7 separate regions of the Homo sapiens genome follow, and all the other regions are linked to region 5. The links are contacts of gene promoters, found by promoter capture Hi-C in blood cells and fetal thymus (Javierre and others, 2016). All regions are on one chromosome and are shown on one strand. The core of a region is centred on a gene start or on the middle of the fragment in contact, and the rest is flanking DNA. Distances in the headings are between cores, read along the strand shown. Region 1 overlaps RALBP1 (ralA binding protein 1). Region 2 overlaps MTCL1 (microtubule crosslinking factor 1). Region 3 overlaps RALBP1 (ralA binding protein 1). Region 4 overlaps MTCL1 (microtubule crosslinking factor 1). Region 5 holds the start of ANKRD12 (ankyrin repeat domain 12). Region 6 overlaps PPP4R1 (protein phosphatase 4 regulatory subunit 1). Region 7 overlaps RAB12 (RAB12, member RAS oncogene family).

Region 1 (2,972 bases), core at 53-2,552, 390 kb after region 5:
AGAATATTTGCAAAAGCTTGTATCTGATAAAGGACTTGATTTTTTTTTTAAAGTTTACAGTTTAATAAGAAAACAACCAATTTTTAAAAGGCAAAAATTTGAACAAATACTTTACCAAAGATCATATATAGATGACAAGCACATGCAAAGACTCTCACCATCATTAGTCATTAAGGAAATCCAGATTAAAAGTACTCTGAGATAACAGTATACATCAACTAGAATAGGTTGCTCTTGGTAATGCAAAATGGTGTAGCCATTTTGAAAAACAGCTTGGCAGTTTCTTATTAAGCTAAACATGCGGTTACTTACCATAGCACCCAGGCTTCCCACTCCTAGGTATTTCTCTAAGAGAAGAAAGCATTTGCCCTCACAAAGCATGTGCGAAATGTTCCTAACAGCTCTAGTTGTAATAGCTTACAACTAGAAGGAACCCCAATGTCCATCAGTTGGTAAATGGATAAACAAATTGGGGTACATTTATTCCATGGCATGTTGCTCAGCAACTACTGATACAGACAGACAAGTAGATGAATCTTAAAAGCATTGTGCTAAGTGGAAGAAGCCAGATAATCACACTACTTACTGATTGATTCAGTTATGAAACTCAAGGAAAGGAAAAACTGCAGCGATGGAGACCAGGACGGGTTGCTAGATGCCGGCAGATGGTGGAGGAGCCCAAGGGCACTTTGTGTGGCAATGGAAACGTTCTAGAGCATGATGGTGGTGCTGGTTACTTGACTTTATGTTTGTGAACACTAAATTCTGTGCTCAAGATTTACACTCCTGACCACACCCTCCCTAAGTATTACAATAGGTAATTTCTGTGGAAGGGTACCAGAAATGGCAAGTACATTCACCAGAATTGAGTATTTTTCACAGTGCAGGCACAGACTCAGATCTCCATGTTATATTCCAAGCCCAGTTACCAAATGCCCATCCAGCTAGATGGTTCATCTGACTGTTATTGTTTCAATTCTAGGAAATGAGAAGGAAACGTGTAGATTGGTGGTGGTGTGATTTGTTGAATATGTGTTACATATGGGCTGACTAGTTCTTTTTTATTTGTCTTATTTGACAGGAGTGTGAAACCAAGATTGCACAAGAGATAGCCAGTCTTTCAAAAGAGGATGTTTCCAAAGAAGAGATGAATGAAAATGAAGAAGTTATAAATATTCTCCTTGCTCAGGTAACCTAAAATCTTTTTCTCTCTTTTGCAAGACTCTTTTTTGTTTTTGTTTTTGAGACAAAGTCTCGCTCTTGTCCCCCAGGCTGGAGTGCGTCGAAGCGATCTCGGCTCACTGCAACCTGCAACCTCCGCCTCCCAGGCTCAAGCGATTCTCCTGCCTCGGCCCCCTGAATAGCTGGGATTGCAGGCACCTGCCACCACACCCAGCTAATTTTTGTGTTTTTAATAGAGACGGGGTTTCACCATGTTGGCCAGGCTGGTCTAGAACTCCTGACCTCAGGTGATCCGCCTGCCTCAGCCTCCCAAAGTGCTGGGATTAACAGGCGTGAGCCACCGCGCCCAGCCTGCAAGGCTCTTAATGGTCATTTAAAAATAGTAACTTGAGAAGCTCTACTACAGATGTGAATATTTTAACCAAAATTATAAAGTGATTTTGAGGGCCTGTGTCTGTTTTATTTGTCCCTTCCTTTATGTTGTGTTTGTTAAAATGTTCAGTTATGGCGAAAGAAACTACCTTATATTCAGTAATGACTCTTTACTGGGCATTGTTCTAGACGTTTAATCTCATTTAGTGTGCACACAGGTCCGAATTATAGGTCTTTTCCCTAATTTACAGATTAGTGGTACTTGTTCCATATTAATGAGATCAGACTTTTAAAAATATTTTAAAAACCGTTGTACCTGACATTACAAAGTCTGGAATCCTTGAAATGTAAGAAACAGATTTTATCTAATAGTTGTTGCTAATAACACCTTTTAGATATTTTGATTTTATTCTTTACAGGTGAAAGTCAATTGTTGGAGGCAAATTGTCTTATTAGTCCTTCATTGATTTAACAGATATCCCTTTCGTGCCTACTGTATTCCAGGCATAGAGCTGAAGATGAGCTCATTTCTTTCTGAAGTTCTCAAGTCAGCCTCACTTTGTTCTGGAAATTGCCAGAGTTTAACCAGAAAGGAATGAAGTTCTAGGCTCTGACCACAGTGTGTCTAGGGTTCCAGAAACTCGTGTGGTTTCCCTGAAGCCCAATAGGTTTCAGTCCTTCTGTGTCACCTCTGAAACATGCGTTGTTTTGCCTCTCAGGAGCACATAGTTTTCCTTGAGGAGAGGATGAGTCCCAGATTATATCTTTGTTTCAGGGTTTTTCAGTCTGGTGTTTGTTGGAATGTCAGCTTTAGTAGGTATGCAGAGGTATAGGAAAGACATCTGTGTTCAAAAATATTTGAGCAGTACTGTGTCCTTCATCTCCTGGAGAGACGTTCTCAGCGCTGTTGGTGTTTGTGGGTAGTTCATTTTGGCATGTGACCATGGTAAATAACTACCTTCTCAGTACCTGCTCATTTGGAAAGAACGTCCGCACCCAGCTCCTCATCCCCACAGCCACCTTCTGTTACTCTCTTAAGCTTTGTCTGCCTTGCTTCTTTTCTCTAGGTCAGAGGGGCTCTCTAGATCTTGGGCAGATAGGGATTTTTTCCCCATTCTTTTAATAAGACTGATGATCTTACCAATCTTAGAAATGCATATTGTGGTAAAGCAGAATATTGACTATTTAAATACCTTTGGGCCAGGCATGGTGGCTCACGTCTGTAATCCCAGCACTTTGGGAGGCTGAGGCGGGCGGATCACCTGAGGTCAGGAGTTTGAGACCAGCCTGGCCAACATAGTGAAACCCTGTCTCTACTAAAAATACAAAAATTAGCCAGGCGTGATGGCAGGCGCCTGTAATCCCAGCTACTCAGCGGCTGAGGCAGGAGAATCACTTGCACCCAGGAGGCAGAAGTT
Region 2 (3,216 bases), core at 609-3,108, 410 kb before region 5:
TCTCATCCTCTTACAAGGTTTTCTCAGGGCAAAAGTTTTTAGTTTATGAAGCCCAATTTAAGAATGATTCCTTTTGTGGTATCAATTTTAAAAGCTCTGTGCCTAACCCTACATCCTGAATATTTTCTCCTATGTATTTTTTGGAAAGTTTTATTGTTTTACATTGCACATGTATGTCTGTGATCCATTTTGAATTAATTTTTGTATATGCTATGAAACTTAGGTCAAGCTTCATTTTTTTGGCCTGTGAACACCCAGTTACTCTGGCACCGTCTGTTGAAAAGGCCACCTTTCCTCCATCGAATTACTTTTGCATTGTTGTCAAAAATCAGTTGGGCACATGTGTTTGGGTCTGTTTCTGGGTTCTCTGCTCTGTTCCATTGATCTCTGCCAGAGCCACCCAGCCTTGATCACTTAGCTATATATGTCCTGAAAGTGCTTTCTTGGTGCGGAGTCCGTGCCAGCCAGCAGATCCGAATCCCATTTGATCCCTCAATGGCATTTTGGCCCACTCACCTCTTTGCCTTTTGGTATGTCTGTGTCTCTCTACACAGCCCCGTCCTTATGAAACGCTGGATAAATATTTGTTCCATGGGTGAAGGTTTTATCATCTTTATTTTTCCCTTGAGAAAGAGCCAAAACATTATTTAAAAATCTCTTGCTGAGGAATTTCTGATTCTTTATATCATTACCTAAGGATAGTTAATAAAGGCCAGTAATTCCACTGTAGGTCAAGTTTTTTGACAATGACTGTGAGTCATGAAATTGGCCTGTTTGGTTAGTGATAAGCGAAGCCGCTTCTGTTCATCAACTTCCTGAACGTCAGCCAGGCTCCTCGCTGGGCTTGGACAACGCCGGCTTGTCCCCTGTGCGCTGTACAGCTGCCTTCTTTTTATTTCCTGTGCAGTCTCGCCCACAGCACTGCAGGCTCCGGGGGACCTTTTAGGGCAGATTATGGCACCCTTGGGATGGCTACCTTGGACGCAGCGATGCTGTGTGAACATTACTTTGCAGACTTCCTGAGAGATTGAAGATCCATCTATTTCTCTCCTTCTCTAAGACAGCCTTTCTTGGAAGATGGGAATCTCTGATAATGTGCAGGGCGTTTCAGCATTTTACCTACACGTTAGAATGGAACCTCTGACTTGTAGTGAAACAGACACTGTGCTTGCTGCTTTTCTTAAAAATAATTGGCTGGGTGCGGTGGCTCACGTCTGTTTTCCCAGCACTTTGGGGAGGCCGAGGTGGGCGGATCACGAGGTCAGGAGATCAAGACCATCCTGGCTAACACGGTGAAACCCCATCTCTACTAAAAATACAAAAAATTAGCCGGCCGTGGTGGCGGGCGCCTGTAGTCATAGCTACTCGGGAGGCTGAGGCAGGAGAATGGCGTGAACCCGGGAGTCAGAGCTTGCAGTGAGCCAAGATTGTGCCACTGCACTCCAGCCTGGGCGACAGAGCAAGACTCCATCTCAAAAAAAGATAAAAAAGTAAAAAATAATAATAATGATAATTAAAATAGGCTGGGCACGATGGTTCATGCCTCTAATCCCAGTACTTTAGGAGGCCGAGGCGGGCAGATCACCTGAGGTCAGGAGTTCAAGACCAGCCTAGCCAACATGGTGAAACCCCGTCTGTACTAAAAATACAAAAATTAGCCAGGCATGGTGGCAGGCGTCTGTAATCCCAGCTACTCAGGAGGCCGAGGCAAGAGAATCGCTTGAACCTGGGAGGCAGAGGTTGCAGTGAGCCAAGATCGCGTCATCGCACTCCAGCCTGGGGGGCAAGAGCGAGACTTCGTCTCAAGAAAAAAAATAATAATTAAAATATAGACAGCACATATTTCTGAATAATTTAGACTTTCACTAGGCAGTAAACTGCATCAAATTTGTAGCATTGTCTGTGCTATGGGAAAAATAGAAACTACTGCTCTTCTCAAAAAAAAAATTTTTTTTTGAGACAGAGTCCCACCCTGTCACCCAGGCTGGAGTGCAGTGGTGTGATCTCAGCTCACTGCAACCTCTGCCTCCCAGGTTCAAGTGATTCTCCTGCCTCAGTCTCCTGAGTAGCTGGGATTACAGGTGTGCACCACCACACCTGGCTAATTTTTGTATTTTCAGTAGAGACGGGGTTTCATTATGTTGTCCAGGCTGGTCTTGAACTCCTAACCTCAAGTGATCCACCTGTCTCAGCCTCCCAAAGTGCTGGGATTACAGGCGTGAGCCACTGTGTCCCGCCTCAAAATTTGTATTTGATTCTCTTGGGGTCTGTTGAATTTATATGCTACAAGTCATGTTATTGATGTAATATAATTTAGGTAACTTTATTCTTTTAATCTTCATTTTTTTTGAGACAGGGTCTCGCTCTGTTGCCCAGGGATCATGGCTCACTGCAGCCTTGACCTCTTGGGCTCAAGGGATCTTCCTGCCTCACCCTCCCGAGTAGCTGAGACTACAGGCGTGTGCCACCACACCCGGCTAATTTTTTTGATTTTTTAAATTTATTTATTTATTTATTTTTTAGTAGAGACTGGGTCTCATCATGTTGCCCAGGCTAGTCTCAAACTCCTGAGCTCAAACAATCCTCCCACCTCAGTTTCCCAAAGTTTTGGGATTACAGGGGTGAGCTGCCGTGTTTGGCTAATTTAGGTAACTTTTATCTTCAAGTGCAGAATCAAGAGTCAGAGAAATAGAAATGCTTAGAAAATACTCCATAGGATTCTCTACGGCCTGAGTGCTGTTTCTTGGTGTTGCTCAGACTCAAGTGAGCCATCGTACGTTGAAATGGTATGATTATGAGCCAAATAAGCAAGTTGTGTTGTTTTTTTCTCCCTGGTAATAAAAAATCATTCGCATTGAAAAGACGCCGAGTCACCCATACATAGTTACACAGCCCAACTGAATGTCTCCCTGTTGGGCAGGTAATCAGGCAGCACTTGAATTCTGACCTGAGAATAAGCCCCAGAGAGAGGATGGACCCCAGGTGCTGGCAGGGTGCCGCTCCCCATGGCTGTTTGTACAGGGTGGTTATTCTCCCCTGAAAGAATGTTGGGGGTGGGGGCAGTTAGGTGTGTGTTTGTTCCTTGCATCGTAGATATGCTTTCGTGTGACCTTCAGCAGTGTTCCTGGGACAAGGGGAGCAGGAAATGGGGAGGGCATTCATCAGGCAGTTGGCATTTGAACGTAGACACTGTTCATCTTTGGGTGCGGATGTGCT
Region 3 (3,250 bases), core at 396-2,895, 350 kb after region 5:
ATGAGAAAAGAAATTGCAGATATAAAGCTGAAGAAAAGCTTACTTAAGTCCATTTTCTTACCACTACTGAGGTAACAAACAATTGAAAAGCAGTGGGTAAAATTCTAAGTTTTTCAACAAAGCTTAGCATTTTAAGGAAAAAAAAAACTGTATTACAACATTAGAGTTTGCTTCTTCAGATATTCCTCAGGTTACTTTTCAAATTAATGTCTTAGAAGCGTTATGATTGTATAAAATTTTTTTGTAGTCAACTGAAGCCATAAAAGCATCATTTCCTTCCTTTAGGTCTAAATGATGGAATAGTTTTACATGATGATAACGAGTTATAGAATATAAGTTACAAGACAGGAACAATCTGCTAATGTGTGTGTGTGGTGTGTGTAACAAGTTTTTTTAAACAAATAATGATTGTTACTTTTAACAACTTAATTTGAACTTTTATTATCATGGTTTAGTAAATAGTGCTTTTACTTTCTGCTTTTCTTTAATCAAAATAATTCACTATGTAAGTAAAGAGTTTAGTTACTATGTAACATTTTAATTCCAAATCTTGACTTTTGGCCTATTTTGCCTGCGTAAGATTAGTATTTTTACTTCTGTCTCCAGATTTTATTTAATTCCAGGAAATAATGCAGCAGCTGTTGTTATTTATTTATTTATTTATTTTTTAGGCAGAGTCTCACTCTGTCACCCAGGCTGGAATGCAGCGGCATGATCTTGGCTTACTGCAACCTCAGCCTCATGGGTTCAAGTGATTCTCATGCCCCAGCCTCTTGAGTTGCTGCAATTACAGGTGTGCACCATCATGCCCAGCAATTTTTTCTATTTTTAGTAGAGATGGGGTTTCACCGTGTTGGCTAGGCTGGTCTCCATCTTCTGGCCTCAAGTGATCCTCCCACCCCGGCCTCCCAAAGTGCTGGGATTACAAATGTGAGCTGCTGTTAATTCTTACGCAGTACCTTTATATCCTAGACAGTAATTTTATTCCTATTTTCCATTTCTTTCCTCTAAAATGTTACCTTGTGATAGGGCTTGGCTGTGTCCCCACCCAAATCTCAAGTTGAATTGTGTCTCCCAGAATTCCATGTTTTGGGAGTGACCCAGAGGGAGGTAACTGAATCATGGGAGCCAGTCTTTCCCATGCTATTCTCCTGATAGTGAATAAGTCTCTTGAGATCTGATGGGTTTATCAGGGATTTCCACTTTGGCTTCTTCCTCATTTTCTCTTGCCACTACCATGTAAAAAGAGCCTTTAGCCTCCCGCCATAACTCTGAGGCTTCCCCAGCCATGTGGAGCCATAAGTTCAATTAAACCTTTTTTTGTTCCCAACTTCTGGTATGTCTTTATCAGCAGCATAAAAACGAACCAATACACCTTAACTGAAATCTTCATGGGGTGGTGGTTCTTACTTACCCAACCAAGATAATTGACCACTTTATAACTTTTGAGCAGCTCTCTACATTTAAATGTTTACAGATCACCTATTAAGGAAACTTCTACTTAGAATTGTCAGCTGAGGATTTTCTCTAACTATCGTGGGTGATATTAGACCTACTTGTTATTCTATATCAGTAGTTAATAATCTAAGGTAATTTTTTCCTCAATCTCATTTTTAGGAAATTTTTTTGAAGAAAATTATAAAAATTAATATATATATTTTCAAAAATTTAAGTAGGACCCAAATGGAGCCCTTTGTCCCCCCAAGTCCTCTGGTACCACATCCCATACATTAACCCAGATGTCATATCATTTCATCCAGGTATATTTTAGTGTGTATCTCTAACCACAACACAGTGATCACACTAACAAAAATTAACAATTGTTTCTTAATATAAAATATTGAATTAATATTCAGATTTCTCTGATTTTCATAACTTTTTTTCCTAACTATTTTTTCACTTCTTTTCTTTTTTGAGACAGAGTTTGTCTCTGTCACCCAGGCTGGAGTGCAGTGGTACGATCTTGGCTCACTGCAGCCTCTGCCTCCTGGGCTCAGGCGATTCTCCTGCCTCAGCCTCCTGAGTAGCTGGGATTACAGGTGCACGCCATCATGCCCAGCTAGTTTTTGTATTTTTAGTAGAGACGAGGTTTTGCTATGTTGGCCAGGCTGGTCTCAAACTCCTGACCTCAGGTAATCTGCCTGCTTTGGCCTTCCAAAGTGGTGGGATTACAGGTGTGAGCCACCATGACCGGCCCCTAACAATTTTTTCAAATCAAAATCCAAATAAGCTCTATACATGGCAATTGGTTGATGTCTTTTAAGTCTTTCTTTTTTTTCAAGGTAATGTGTCATTTTTTTGTAGTATTTTTGTGTTTCTTAACCTTTTACAAAAATAGACTTTATTTTTAAAGCTGCGTTTGTGTTAGAGTTCGCTCCTGGTATGCTGTACATTCCGTGTGTTTAGACAAATGAATAATGAACATGTGTCCACCACTAAAGTACCAATACAGAATAGCTTCACTGCCCCAACAATCCTCTGTGTTCCACCTATTCATTTCTTCCTCCTCCCTAAACCCTGGCTACTACTAATCCTTCTACTGTCTCTATAGTTTTGCTTTTTGCAGAATGTCATATGGCCTTTTTAATTAACGTCTTTTTTTTTGAGACAAGGTCTTGCTTTGTCGTGCAGGTTGGGGTGAAGCGCTGGGATCTCAGCTCACTGCTGAGCCTCTACCTGCTAGGCTCAGGTGATCCTCCCATCTCAGCCTCCCAAGTAGCTGGGACTACAGGTGTGCACCACCACACCCAGCTAATTTTTTCTTTTTTTTTTTTGGGTAGAGATGAGGTTTTGCCATGTTGCCCAGGCTGTTCTCTGACTGCTGTGCTTAAGCAGTCCGCCCACCTTGGTCTCCAAAAGTGCTGGGATCGCAGTTGTCAGCCACTGTGCTCAACTTCTTTTACTTAGTAATATGCATTTACATTTCCTCTGTATCTTTTCATGACTTGATAGCTCATCTCTTTTTAGCACTAAATAATATTCCATTATCTGGATATACCACAGTTTATCCATTGCTGCCTTTTTTGGGGGGATTTATAATATACCTGCTATAAACATCTATGTGCCGGTTTTTGCATGTACATAAGTTCTCAATTCATTTGGGTAAATACCAAGGAGTGCGATTGATGGATCATATAGGAAGAGTATGTTTAGTTTTGTAAGAAACTGCCAAGCTTTCTTCCAAAGTGGCTGTGCCATATTGCATTCCTATCAGCCATGGATAAAAGTTCCTGTTGCTCTATATCCTTGC
Region 4 (3,095 bases), core at 406-2,905, 390 kb before region 5:
AGACAAAAGTGGAATGGGACAGGGAAGCCCATTTAAGATTTAGCTGGAGAACCTGGACTGCCAGTTCCGTCTCTCCACCCACACTGAGCATCGTCACCTGGGGCCTGGGTATCGCGACGATGCTCACCCTTCCGATGTCCTGTGTTGGCCCGGCTCTTCCAGGTGGAAATCAGAGATGGTCAGCTTTTTGGAGAGACAGGTCCAGAGCCCACACCATGCCTCTTGTGGTCTGGACACCACTGGTCCACACAGGTACTGACTCTGTCTTTTCTAGTACGGCTGCAACCAAGGGCCCACCCACTGAACGGCTTCAGAACCTGAAGCTTATTCTTTCACAGCAGTGGGGACTGCAGTCCAAGATCAGGGTGCCTGCAGGGCATGCTATCTGGAAAGGCCCTAGGGGAGAGTCTGTTCCATGCCTGGTGCTTTGCTCCCTGGCCTGTGGTGGGGGCTGCAGTCCAAGATCAAGGTGCCTGCAGGGCACGCTGTCTGGAAAGGCCCTAGGGGAGAGTCTGTTCCATGCCTGGTGCTTTGCTCCCTGGCTTGTGGCTGAGCCACCCAAATCTCTGCCTCTGCCTTTGTCATCACACAACCTCTTCCCTGTGTGTCTGAGTCTCAGCTGCCTTCTCTGTGTGTGTGTCTCGTCCTCAGCTTATAAGGACACCAGTCATCTTGGATCCGGCCCATGCAGTCTAGTAGGTCCTCCTCTAAACGTGCAAAGACTCTGTTTCCAAATAAGGCCATATTCCCCAGCACTGGGGGTAGCACTTGAACATATCTTCTTGGGGAAATAGTTCAGCCCACAACATACAGGAAAACAGAGAAGCTGAGTAAGCCCTAAGGAAGTCTCGCTGGAATCTGACACTGCCCTGCCCTGCGAGGACAGGATCAGTGGGCTCGCATTTTCTGTTTTTTGTTAATAATTATCTGCATTGTGTTTTTCCTGAGTGGCTCCAGATGGATAGCCTCAGCAGCCCTGCACAGGCTCCTGTCCTCATTGTGTCCTCCTTGTGTGCCCCATGCTGGAGTCCCACTGGCAGGTTGTGAGGAGAGCTGCCTGGTTGTCACCCACACACCTAAGCTCTGTGTCCTACCTCCAGGTCATGTTGGTGCCCCTGGTCTTCCGTCCCCAGACCATACCCCTCAGAACTGCTTGTGGCCGCCTCACTTGGGGCTCTGCACCCCTGTCAGCTCTCTCCCTCACACAGTTTCCTGGTTCTGCCCTGTTGCTTTCTAGTCTCTCTGCCTGCACTGAACTGAGGTGCCCAGACCTCACACCAAGCCGGACCCCTGCCCCCATCCCTCCCCTGCAGTCAGTTTTGCACAAAGCTGCCAGGTAGGTCTTCTTGAAGAGGCCTCACAACACTAAATATATTCGTATATTAGTAGGTGCCAAGGCAGGAGGATCGCTTGAGCCCCCAGGAATTGGAGACCAGCCTGGACAACATAGTGAGACACCATCTCTACCAAAATTTAAAAATTAGCCAGGCATGGTGGCATGCACCTGTGGTCCCAGCTACTTGGGAGGCTGAGATGGGAGGATCGTTTGAGCGCGGGAGATCAAGGCTACAGTAAATGATAATTGTGCCACTGCATTCTCACCTGGGTGGGTGACAAAGCAAGACCCTGTCTCCAAATATATGTATGTATGTGTATATATATATATGCACACACACACACATATACACACATATATATATTCTGAATATATATATTCGTGACTCCCCGAAATAAATTCAGTTTATATATATGTAAATAAATTCTGAAGACTCTACATGTGTGTGTATATATACATATATATTTTTGTATTAACGTTAATAGTAATATTAACATGAGTTCAGGGTATTAGCCAGTTCTGTCTTTCGGGATGAAGTCACTGGATTGAGGCAAGACTTCAGTGAAGGAAGCCATGTGGTTTGTAAAATGAAACTGACAGGGGACCTTTGTATCTTATGTTCAGGTGATCACAGCTCCTTCTTGGGGGTCATCACAGTCACCTAAGAGATTGAGTTCCTTCAAAGCAGTTTCTTGTGCACAAGGACAGATGGGGTGTCCTCTGTTCACTCTGCTAGCACATGATGCTGCCGTCAAAATGGCACACATCATCTCTACTTTTAGTTCTGTTATAAATGGAGACCCTGGACTTGCCTCAGATGACCTTGTGAGATATTTTATTTGTTTGGCAGCATTAAAAGGTGGAGCCTTCGATCAGCCAGCAGCATTTTCCATTCCTGGGACATCCCTTCTTATGCAGCATCTGCAAGCTCATTTCATAAAGGCATGGGAGAGCAATTGGAGAATGACAGGTGTGCTGTGGCACCCCCAAATGCAGTTGCCGCTGCCTCAGGCCTTACCAGTAATGACACTATATCAGGGTGGGGAGGACAGTAGGGACAGGTTAAGAGTTGGCCAGCCTGGGGCTGCAAGCCATGCTGTCACCATAGCAGGAGGCAAGGTGTATGGAGAGGCCAGGCTGGCTGCGGACGGACCACATGGATCTAGGGTCCTGGCTCAGGGTGTTCGATGCACTCTGAAGGCAGAGGGTGCTGTGGTTGAAAAACCACAGGAGGTTTTTCAAGGGAGAATGATATGGGCAGTTATATCTTTGGAAGGTAAGTGGAGGAAGAGTGAAGTGAGAAGACAGAGCCAGTGGAGAGGCTGTGGCCGTGGCCTAAGTGAGAAGAAAGCAGAGCCTGAGCTTGGGCAGATCCAATGGTGGGCCCGAGAGAGTGACAAGAGCACAGGGATGGGGTTTGGCCACCTGTAAATACCTGTAAGCACAGTGCCTCCCACTGGCCCTGGCCCTGGACCCCAGCGAACAGGGCTTAGGGCATGATCCTGGATCGTACAGACATGGGGGCCTATTCTTTCCTTGGCAACTATGGGACTTCGGGCAGGTTGCTTAATGGCTTGAACTTCAGTGTCTGCAACTGTAAAACTGAGTTGTTGGGACCCAGCTATAAACTTGTTTCGATGTTTCAGTAAAATAAAGCTTTGCTCTAAGAGTAACTTTACTACTAAGACTAACATAAAACTGTATTTTCAGTTTGTTTCTGTTAACCCATAGGGAATATTAAAGTTGCTGTTAGCTGGAT
Region 5 (3,079 bases), core at 203-2,702:
GTCTTACTATGTTGCCTGGCTGGTCTCAAACTCCTGGGCTCAAGCCATCTGCCCGCCTGAGCCTCCCAAATTGCTGGGATTACAGGCGTGAGCCACTGCGCTCGGCTATAACGATTATTTTTAAGTATGTCTTTAAGATTTTTTTTTTAATTGAGAGAAGGTAAACAACAGTTAATTTTCCAAGTGGCACAAAAAAGTAACAATGAAAATGTCCTACCCTGGAGCTCTCCTGACTTTCTCATAGGCGACTGTTTTTTTCTTTGTATTTCACATCATAAATAACCAAGTTAAATGTAACACTATTCCACCTCTAGCCATAAGGTGCTCTTTTTCTAGTCTTGTTGACCCTAAAGATTTGTAGGTGGGAGAAATCAGGAACCCAGGAAAGGAAAAACTCCTGATCTTTAATGCAGGTTTATGCTTTACATAGTAATTTGATGGGACCTCGCCGTCCCTGTCAGGTCTGAATGTCACTTCATCTGCTGTGATCACACCTGAACCCTCAGTTCATCAAGACGTTAAAGGACAGTGTAACATAAACTTGTAACTGCATGCACTAAGTCATAAACAGACGCTGTTGTTGCAGATTAACCTCTACGTAAATAACGCGCCCAGAAGGGAGTGAGTACACGCTGCTGCCACGCTGCGACGGTCAATTTTCCTCCGGCACCCTTCCTAGTACCTGAGCAGCTCCCTCTCAAATCCCCAACACTACGTGTGGGAGGGTGCACTGAATTCCTCTTTAAAAAGGCCACTGGAAGGCGTGGCTGGGAGGGGACGCGCTCTAGACCCCCTGGTGCCAGGGCAGGTGCACGCTACCGCGCTTTCGGGGCGGGGCCCAGGGCCCCACCTGAGGCGGGGGGCCGCGGGCTCTGGGCGTAGGTGCAGCTTCTCCGGCCTGGTGCGGGGCCAGACGGCCGCCGCCGGCTTAGCGGGGGAACTTCGCCTAGTCCTCGGGCTGCGGTCGCAGCGTCATTTTGCCTGAGTTGGATCACGCTCGTCCACCCACCCCGTGTAAAAATAACAGGTGAATACCCTATGTGGGGGTCCTCATCGCCGCCATTTCCAGAAGCTTCCAGTCACAGCCACTGCCACGGTCGCCACAAATGCTACTGCAGAGCCCGCTTGCCCAGCAGCGTCACCGGCGCCTGCCCTGCCTCTTCGCCCAGCCTTTGATTCCCCCTCCTTTGTCGGATAGTGTCTGCGGCGGGGAGGCGGTGACACTAGTCCGAGTGGGGCGTGGAGACCGACCAGCACGAAGGGCGGAGTTCCGGCCCGCACCCCTCCGCCGCCTGCCGCTTGGTACGTCCCGCTTCCCCGCCCTGCGGCTCGCGGAGCCTGGCTGAGCAGCAGGAGGGGCGGGCGCCGGGGGGCGGGGCGGTCACGCCGCCCGTCCCGTGCCCGCGGTAGTCACGTGTCCGCGGGTGTCACGTGCTCGCGTCGCAGCCAATCGCGGGGCGACGCTGTCCTGGGAGCGAGGAGGCTGTGGTGAGAGACGGACCGAGACCGGAGATGTTTTCAAGCCCGGCTCCGGCGGCTTTACAGGCGGCTGCAGCGGCGACGAAGACAACGACAGCGACGGCTACGCCGAAGCACTCGTTCCGGGGGTGAAGCCTCCTGCGCCGGCCTTGCCTCGGGTCCGTACGGGTGAGGGGGGCGTGGCGACAGGAAAGGAGGAAGGAGGGGCGCGGTTTCGAGCTTGTCCCCGGCGCCAGGGAGGAGATCCCCTCAGTTCTGCGCTGCTCCCGTTCCCCCTCCCCAGAGCAAGGTAGGGGACGCGCCCTGCCCGCCCCCCCCGGTCCCGACGCGCCGCCCGCCCAGCCTGGCCCGAGCCGTAGCTCGCCTGACAGTGACAGGCCGTTAGTGCCCCCCGGCGCGGGTCCGCCGGGGCCCCGCCCGCCGCCGCCCCTCCCGGCGTCGCGAGGAGCCGCGGCGCAGGTGGGAGCCGCCAACTGGGCGGGGGCGCTGCGCGGGGCGGGGCGGGGGCCGGGCGGAGGGCCGCGAGCTGGCCTCGTCGCGGGCGCCCCTCACCGCGGCTGGCGGGGCTGGGCTGCCGCCGCCTCCCGGAACATGGCGGGGCCGGAGGAGCGTGTGCGTGCGAGTGTGAGTGTGCGCGGCCGAGAGGGCGCCGCTGGCGTGCGGCGGTCGGACCCGCGGGGGCGGGGGCGCGCCCGGCCCGCCGCGCGTTCCCGCCGCCAGCCGCCGAGCGTGCGCCGACGCCGGGGAGTCTGCCGCGGCCGCTCGGGCCGGGAGCGTCGGAGGTACCCGGGTCCTGGGAGAGGTGGATGAAATCAAGAAGGGGAAATTGCTGCTTTAGTAGTGTCCGGGGAAAGAGCAGCCACTCTACAGTTCTGTCTTAAATGCCAGTGTAAAATAACCTTGCCGCATTGGACAGGCAGTTCCCGTCATCGTTTTTCAAGTACCCACTTGTGATGCTTCAAGACCCCTGGAGCACGTCAGGTTCTTAGATCTCGTTTTGAGGAGTGATGTGGAGTGACGCATCCTTACAGATCCCAAAGCGTTGAATAAACGGTTGTACAAAGAGGTATGCGAAGCTTAGCTGACAGCTGTTTTAGTAATAACAGTAAGACGCTGTCTGGGATAGGAAGTTACTGTTGCACTCGTTGAAACCTTAGGAAACATTTAAAGCAGTGTAGTCACCGGGATTGTAATTTCCACTGGACACCCGTGGTTAAACTGCGAACTAAGGTGAAGTGTGTTGCAGATCCAGTGCTGTGTATGTAATGGTTCGGAATTACCTCTAATCCTAAAGTTGAAATGAGCCTGCATCTGCAGTCATGTATTTCGTTTTCATTTTAGAATGGTTTATGTAAATTATAAAGAAAGGCTAGTGAAATAGCTATTTTATCGTAAATTAACTGTGTATTAAAAACATATGCACAGCCGGGCGCGGTGGCTCATGCCTATAATCCCAGCACTTTGGGAGGCCGACGTGGGTAGATCACCTGAGGTCAGGAGTTCGAGACCAGCCTGACCAATATAGTGAAACCCCCGTCTCTACTAAATATACAAAATTAGCCAGGCGTGGTGGCGCATGTCTGTAATCCCAGCTACTTGG
Region 6 (3,286 bases), core at 547-3,046, 470 kb after region 5:
CAGCTAATTCTTTGTATTTTTAATAGAGACGGGGTTTCACCATGTTGGCCAGGCTGGTCTTGAACTCCTGATCTCGGGTGATCCACCCGCCTCGTTCTCCCAAAGTGCTGGGATTACAGGCATAAGCCACCGCACCGGGCTGGCAGTTTCTTAAAAAGTTAAACAGCCATTCTACTTCTAGATGTATACCCAAGAGAAAGAACATATATATTCACACAGACTTGTGTGTGAATGTTCATAGCAGCTTTATTTGTAACAGCAAAAAAACTGCAGATGATCCAAAAATCCATCAACATTTTAAAGGTAGAAAGCTGAGAAAAAGTTAACTTGCTCAGATTATAAAGAGAATAAATGGCAGGGCCAGAATATTAACTCAGGTCTAAAGGCTTACCAAGCCCAGTGTTCTTTCCCCTACACAAAACTATACTGAGGTATCTTCCAGAATGACTGCATGATAGATGCTCAAATACCAACCACATTCATATCAATAAGGCCAGAAAGTAAGTTAAGTTTGCTCCTTAGTCTAGGGAGATAAGAAGCTAAGATGACTTAAAAGTTAGGAGAGTTAAGAAATGAATGTGGAGGAAGCAGCATTGATGATGTCACCAGCTCAAAGATCTGTGCTAAAAGCAGAGCAAGTTCCAGACCCTCTTATAGAAATTAGAGGGAATACCTCCTCAGCCAAAATTCCATAGGTGTGCCATCCAGACTTCTGCCCAAAACACTAAGTTAGGTTTATTCTCAGCTCCAATTTAAAAACAACAACACAACTCTAATTCAAATTTAGGAACTTTCAAATTCTTTTACTCCAAAATATAAAAAAAAGATGTAATACAAACATAGGAGCAAGGTAACAATAGTTTAATAAACATACATTCATTGTTTTGAGGAGACTGAGAGAAAAGGACCAGAAATAATAAACCAGAGATCAAACAAATGTGGCAGCAGACTTCTGAACTTTACCTCCTGAGGTCTATTTATCTTTCACAGGCAGGAACAAACAAAAAGTATGCATTTAGGTGTCTTGGTTTTTTATTTTTTGGAGGGGGGAGGGCAGTGGATCGTGTAGCTACAGGCCCAAGCATATTTACAAAGGGGTTTTTCTCTCTGTCTCTCTCTCTCTCTCTTTCAATTTTATGTGGGAAGTTGTTAGCAGAGGTATCATTAATTGATCCAACACACATGTGGGTACCACTGAAACCATTTTAAAAGCACTCTTTTCTAAGATATCAATGATATTATCTCTAAATAAAGATCTCTCCATCCAGGCTTGTTGGCAGCAGTCAAAACAGGCTACCAGGTCTCACGACTCACCCTCCCAAATCCCTATTTAACAATACTCCTAAATATGATTCACGTTCAAGGGCACCTTCCAAAGGTTTCTGAATGATTCCCTGGCCACTACCAGATACAGCCCCAATATTTTGCTCCTCACCTCCCACCGGAAGCAAGGACTCTAAGCTTATCAGAACTGGTTTTGAAACATGGTAGGAAGGCCTGAAGATTCTGCACAGAGTGCGGTCTAGGCGGTTACCCTCAGTTAGTTCTGGACCCATCCTTCACTCTACTTCAACACCGCCCTTAAACCCGAAAAACAGCATAATGTAAAAGGATTCCAAAACTTAAATATGAAAAAAGTCTGTTGTATGGCATACTCAATAACATAGCTTCAAAAACTTTTCAACGTCATACTTAGTTACAGCTGAGATAAAAGTTAACGACTAAATAAGCTGTCTTATACCCAAGCTCCATCCTCTCTATCATTCTCCAGGTGTAAACTAAACCACATGCAGCATCCCAGATTAATTTTCAAGGGTACTTTAAGAACGAGTTCAAAGAAATTGCCTGTACAAGTTTGGGTTGATCAATATTTTAAACTGGGCCATTTAAGAAAATATTCAAAATATGATATTTAGAATCAGAAGGCCTAGCTTAAAATTCCGTCTAAACTTAGGAGTTTTGTTTCTTTAGTCCCTTTGGGCATTAGTCAACTTACTTATTAGTATTAGAATACCACAGCCTACACATCACAGGACTGCTGTGAAGAATAACCTGTGTATGAAAGGCACTGTAAACTAAGCGTTACATAGCCATTCTTTAAAAATAACATTCTTCAACATATTACTTTGATAAAAGCTTAAGTTCTAATGAAACTCCTTCAATGAAATTATTTTTACAAGCATTGGCTCATCAAATCTTAACCGTATCTTAGTCTCATTTCATTTTAGGAATCTACCAACTTAAATGTGAATCAAAATTGCATCTTTGGAAACTAAAACAGAAATCTGAAATAATTTTTTCTAAACATCTACAATTTTGTATTGTCTCCCATTATTTAAGGAACATAATTAAATATAAAAAGTTAAAAAGGGTTTACCCAACTCTGAAATCTGCTGAGATAACCTATGTTCAAATGGAGTCACTGGTTTGCTTTCAATTTGAAATTCAAAGTATTTCATGATACAGTACTGAAAGTTTCACTTTTAAACTTAAATACATATGGTTTTTATTGCATTATTCTCCTAAACTTTTTTTTTTTGAGACGGAGTCTTGCTCTGTCGCCAGGCTGGAGTGCAGTAGCACAATCTTGGCTCACTGCAACCTCTACCTCCTGGGTTCAAGCAACTCCCCTGCCTCAGCCTCCTGAGCAGCTGCGACTACAGGTGCACGCCACCACGCCCAGTTAATTTTTTTTTGTATTTCAGTAGACATTTCACCATGTTGGCCAGGATGGTCTCGATCTCCTGACCTCGTGATCCGCCCACCTCGGCCTCCCAAAGTGCTGGGATTACAGGCATGAGCCACTGCACCCAGCCTATTCTCCTAAATTTAAGAGTACCTGATAATGATTTCATTTACTTACCTTTATAAGTTACTTGATAAAAGTTTAAGTTCTAATGAAACTCCTTCAATGAAATTATGTGTACACACACACACACACACACACACACACAAATACCATCCATTTTTCCCTCATTAGGATTTTTTTTCCTCCAAAGGTTATCAGTCAAGTCAGTCTTTGACCAACCTTTTCCCCGACTCTGTGCCTCTGTACAGAGACGGGATTAAAACAAATCAAATCGAAAGACCTGAGACTCTTAGCAATGTCTGGCAATGCCCCTCTTTCAAGTCCTAGACTCCAGCTAGGTCCTTTCCTAGATCATCTGCACAACAGAACTTACTGTCTCTTCCCTCATAGTCCAGGTTCTGCATTTAGGAAGGTCAACCAAGATTCTAGAGCTTGACCAGAAAACAATTTCTTCCCATCCCAAGGGCCAACTTACAC
Region 7 (3,109 bases), core at 91-2,590, 510 kb before region 5:
CACCCAGTAATGTGCTGTGTGTGTTTAACAGTCCATGTACTTGTCTAATAAAATGAACTGTTTGAGCTGATTTGCCTCTCCTACTTTCTCCTCTTTTGCTCATTTTAAAATTAAATGGACAGTGTTTCCATCAAGAGAGAGAATTTAGATAAGGCTGTTATGTTATATGCCACTTGCACATGGGGAGCAGTTGTGGACAGAAGAATGTTACTTTAATGGTAGCTAGTTTGGAACCTTTTTGCCTCTATTTTCAAATTATTTACGTGATATCAAAACTGTCTCCACTAAAATGATTGCTCAAATGTTTGTCTTCATGTCTTTATTTTGTATGATAGTATTCAAAGAAAGCCCAATATGTTCATAACCAGATTTGCACAATCTGAAGGCAGGTCCCCTGCAGACAGTTCCAGAGCTTCTTGGTGGCACAATGTGACTATTACTGCGGGTGGGCATACTCCTTCCGGCTGTACTGCTGATTCCACGGGATGTGAGCCCCCACTAATGCCTACTAGAAATGAATCCAGGCCCCTTTCTCAAATCACAATTGGAATGAGAGACTCAACCAGCTGTGTTATAACTGCACTCAGCACTAAGAGCTTTCTGTTAGCTATTAACCTGTTAACAGCCCGCAGGTGCTAGCGACCTGTCTGTGGAAGAAGGGATAAGATCTGGTCTGGTGGTCTGGCGGTGGCTTAAAAGTAGCCCCATTGAGGTGCTCTGAGAATGCCGTTTTGTTTTGAATGCTACAGCTGCGGTGTACTCAGCTTACTAACTCCTCTTGGCAGGTCACCCTCAGCTCTGATTGTTTGTCCACCATGTGTGTGTTTGCTTTCATCTGCGTTAATTGCTGCTTCATCTGTGGCATCATCGGTCACCTAATGCTTGAATGTTAGTGCCATGTCTTCATTCTTCATCCGTGTCCCTGTCTGGGCCGCAGCTGCAGCCAAGCCGCAGTGCCTGCCTTCTGGAGGTGTCTGAGGTAATATCTTCATTTGGTCACCCTTCACTGTATAACACACTTCTAAGATTTTTTGATTTGGGTTTTTGTTCGTTTTCTTTTCTGTTGTGCATTTGGTCTGCATATTTTCATTTTTGGCTTGATTATGAAACATTAGGTCTTGTCTAAATACTTGAATAAACAACAAATAGATATTTCTTCCTGTGCTAGTCCCGCAGACTTTTTGTGCATTGCTGCCCAGCTTTTAAACGCTGGAAATGGCAACAAAGTGTTTGGCACACAAGCTGCTGTTTCTAATTATAAGCTCTATAAGGTAAAGACCATCTTCACAAGGATTTGGGATATGCCTCTCTCTGTTCCTAGTACCTGTGTGAGGTACTTTCTGATGAGAATATTGCCCCACAAAAGTGATGTAAACATTATTAGAATGTGTGACGCCTGCCTTGGTGACAGCCATGCCTGATGACTGTGGCACATGTCTTAATTAATGCATTAATACTTCCATCTTCATCTTTGGCGGCAGTATTCTTTATAAAGTATGTCCAAATGATTTATAAAGTATGTCCAAATGTCCTGGTGCCTCCCTGGAGCTCTGCCCACTAAGTCTATGCTGGTGACATTGTACACTCCTGGAATCTGACTACAATGTCCTTGACTCTGAGATAAGAGGGCCCTACCTGATGGAATCCCCCTCGGGGAGAAAGTGAGATACTGTGGCTCCACGAAGAGCAGCGGGCACTCAGAAACCATTTTTCTCTTGTATATGAAAGCATTCTCCAAATGACCCCTCTCCCTCTCCTGATTCTCCCTTGACTCTTTACTACTTTTTCATTCTCTAAATCTGTGCAGCTGTACAGCATGGGCAAAGAGCGTAACTAAGGGAGGAAGAATGAAATGGATTGGACTTACGGAATGGTTGATTGCAAGTTTTCTACATGGAATATTCCAGTGACTCTTTTCCTGCAGGAAGGTTTTGAACAGTGACTCATATATCTACTACAGGCCAGCCATTTTGTTGATCACATAATACTCAAAATAAGATTTTTATCTTCTGAAATATTTTATTTAAAAGATGAAAACCTTTTCCTTCATTATTGCTATGCAGCAGGTAAAAAGGAAGTGTTAGAATCATGATTGTAATTTGTATTACTGTTTTAAAGTAATGCGTGGCTTCTTTAGGAGTGAGGCACAGCCCTTGTGCTGCTGCTGGTGTAACCTGCTTTGTTGTGGGCGTGTTGTCGTCGTTTCACTCTCATCCATTGAGGGCATAGAAGGCGCCTGTGTAGCTGGAAACGGTCCCTCAAGGAGGCGCAGTGGATTGTGCTATGCTAATAATAGATAGCTCTGCTCCGATTTTCTAGACTGGCATGAAAGCATTGCCATTCGGTTTTCATAGGAGGATCTTGTTGGAAGAAGTGCATTATTTACTATAGATTCCTAAAAGCTAAAAGTACCAAAAGCTGCAGGTGTCTGTTACATTTTTACGTCACGTTTTATGTCATTGCCACATATTTCAGTTTGTTGATTACCTGTGGTCAGAAAAAGGACCATTTTTCTCTTCTCTGTACTTTAAAGTATTTCTACATGAATGTTAGAACTTTATGTAAGTAGCTAAAATAAAACATGTTGACTAGGATGTAGTTTGATGAATTTATATCCAAATGGTGTCCTAGAAATTATTTACAGTGAACTTGGAGTTGTGTTGAAATGGACTTGAAGCCGTGAAATTTGCCTCTTACCTTTAGGCAAACACAGAATTGAAATGCTTCATATAAGGGCCCTTTGTTCTGCCTGTCGGACCAGTCCACTGTTGGGGGACTTTGTTTTAACCAGCGTTCTTAGGTCAGCATCATTCCTTTTGTTCTCTGCTTGGAAGAGGGGGAATATTTCATACCCTATATTGGCGTGTGCCCTGAAAATTAGTAATTAAATAATTTAAGTGGCTATATTAAATACAGCAAATAAGAGGCTTTGAATTCTCCAAGCGTTGTTGTATCACCAAACTGGGAAAACAGAATTGCAGGAATTTTTCAATTGCACAAAAACCAGATAGAAAAATCAGAATAAGGTGGCATGCTAACTGTAGTAAACGATGATTGAGCTGACGTTCATAACTTGCAAACCTCTAGAAATCCGCACCTTATCATTACA

Evidence for each region. The method cuts DNA at HindIII sites, captures the fragments that hold promoters and counts their contacts. A CHiCAGO score of 5 or more calls a contact.
Region 1: a fragment that was not itself captured here is called in contact with the fragment with the promoter of ANKRD12 in region 5 in 2 of 17 cell types (M2 macrophages and megakaryocytes); the score reaches 6.6 in M2 macrophages.
Region 2: a contact is called between a fragment that was not itself captured here and the fragment with the promoter of ANKRD12 in region 5, in 1 of 17 cell types (erythroblasts). The highest score is 6.6, in erythroblasts.
Region 3: a fragment that was not itself captured here is called in contact with the fragment with the promoter of ANKRD12 in region 5 in 4 of 17 cell types (megakaryocytes, M2 macrophages, erythroblasts and 1 more); the score reaches 5.8 in megakaryocytes.
Region 4: a contact is called between a fragment that was not itself captured here and the fragment with the promoter of ANKRD12 in region 5, in 1 of 17 cell types (fetal thymus). The highest score is 6.2, in fetal thymus.
Region 6: a contact is called between a fragment that was not itself captured here and the fragment with the promoter of ANKRD12 in region 5, in 1 of 17 cell types (total CD8 T cells). The highest score is 6.0, in total CD8 T cells.
Region 7: a contact is called between a fragment that was not itself captured here and the fragment with the promoter of ANKRD12 in region 5, in 1 of 17 cell types (total B cells). The highest score is 6.0, in total B cells.

The regions. Positions count from the first base shown.
Region 1 is chr18:9,529,753-9,532,724 of GRCh38, forward strand. RALBP1 (ralA binding protein 1) reads left to right here. Exons shown (of 10, transcript NM_006788.4): 7 at 1,082-1,189. Among named protein-coding and RNA genes, the nearest start is that of RALBP1, 56 kb to the left of the region's middle. The HindIII fragment of the contact is 2,577 bases long and covers 15-2,591 here.
Region 2 is chr18:8,729,771-8,732,986 of GRCh38, forward strand. All of the region lies in intron 3 of MTCL1 (microtubule crosslinking factor 1), which reads left to right. Among named protein-coding and RNA genes, the nearest start is that of GACAT2, 24 kb to the left of the region's middle. RefSeq lists an enhancer at 641-935. The HindIII fragment of the contact is 3,262 bases long and covers 228-3,216 here.
Region 3 is chr18:9,489,661-9,492,910 of GRCh38, forward strand. The region is part of intron 1 of RALBP1 (ralA binding protein 1); the gene reads left to right. Among named protein-coding and RNA genes, the nearest start is that of RALBP1, 16 kb to the left of the region's middle. The HindIII fragment of the contact is 3,051 bases long and covers 121-3,171 here.
Region 4 is chr18:8,746,914-8,750,008 of GRCh38, forward strand. The region is part of intron 3 of MTCL1 (microtubule crosslinking factor 1); the gene reads left to right. Among named protein-coding and RNA genes, the nearest start is that of GACAT2, 41 kb to the left of the region's middle. The HindIII fragment of the contact is 2,669 bases long and covers 322-2,990 here.
Region 5 is chr18:9,135,329-9,138,407 of GRCh38, forward strand. ANKRD12 (ankyrin repeat domain 12) reads left to right here and starts at 1,453. Exons shown (of 13, transcript NM_015208.5): 1 at 1,453-1,637. It overlaps NDUFV2-AS1 (NDUFV2 antisense RNA 1), which reads right to left and starts at 1,392. Exons shown (of 3, transcript NR_110772.1): 1 at 1,036-1,392. RefSeq lists silencers at 555-728, 731-820, 1,171-1,520, 1,731-2,130, 2,171-2,220 and enhancers at 1,011-1,060, 1,551-1,600. The HindIII fragment of the contact is 1,483 bases long and covers 1,071-2,553 here.
Region 6 is chr18:9,607,943-9,611,228 of GRCh38, forward strand. The region is part of intron 2 of PPP4R1 (protein phosphatase 4 regulatory subunit 1); the gene reads right to left. Among named protein-coding and RNA genes, the nearest start is that of PPP4R1, 5.0 kb to the right of the region's middle. The HindIII fragment of the contact is 675 bases long and covers 1,460-2,134 here.
Region 7 is chr18:8,625,016-8,628,124 of GRCh38, forward strand. All of the region lies in intron 2 of RAB12 (RAB12, member RAS oncogene family), which reads left to right. Among named protein-coding and RNA genes, the nearest start is that of RAB12-AS1, 9.8 kb to the right of the region's middle. The HindIII fragment of the contact is 4,106 bases long and covers 1-3,109 here.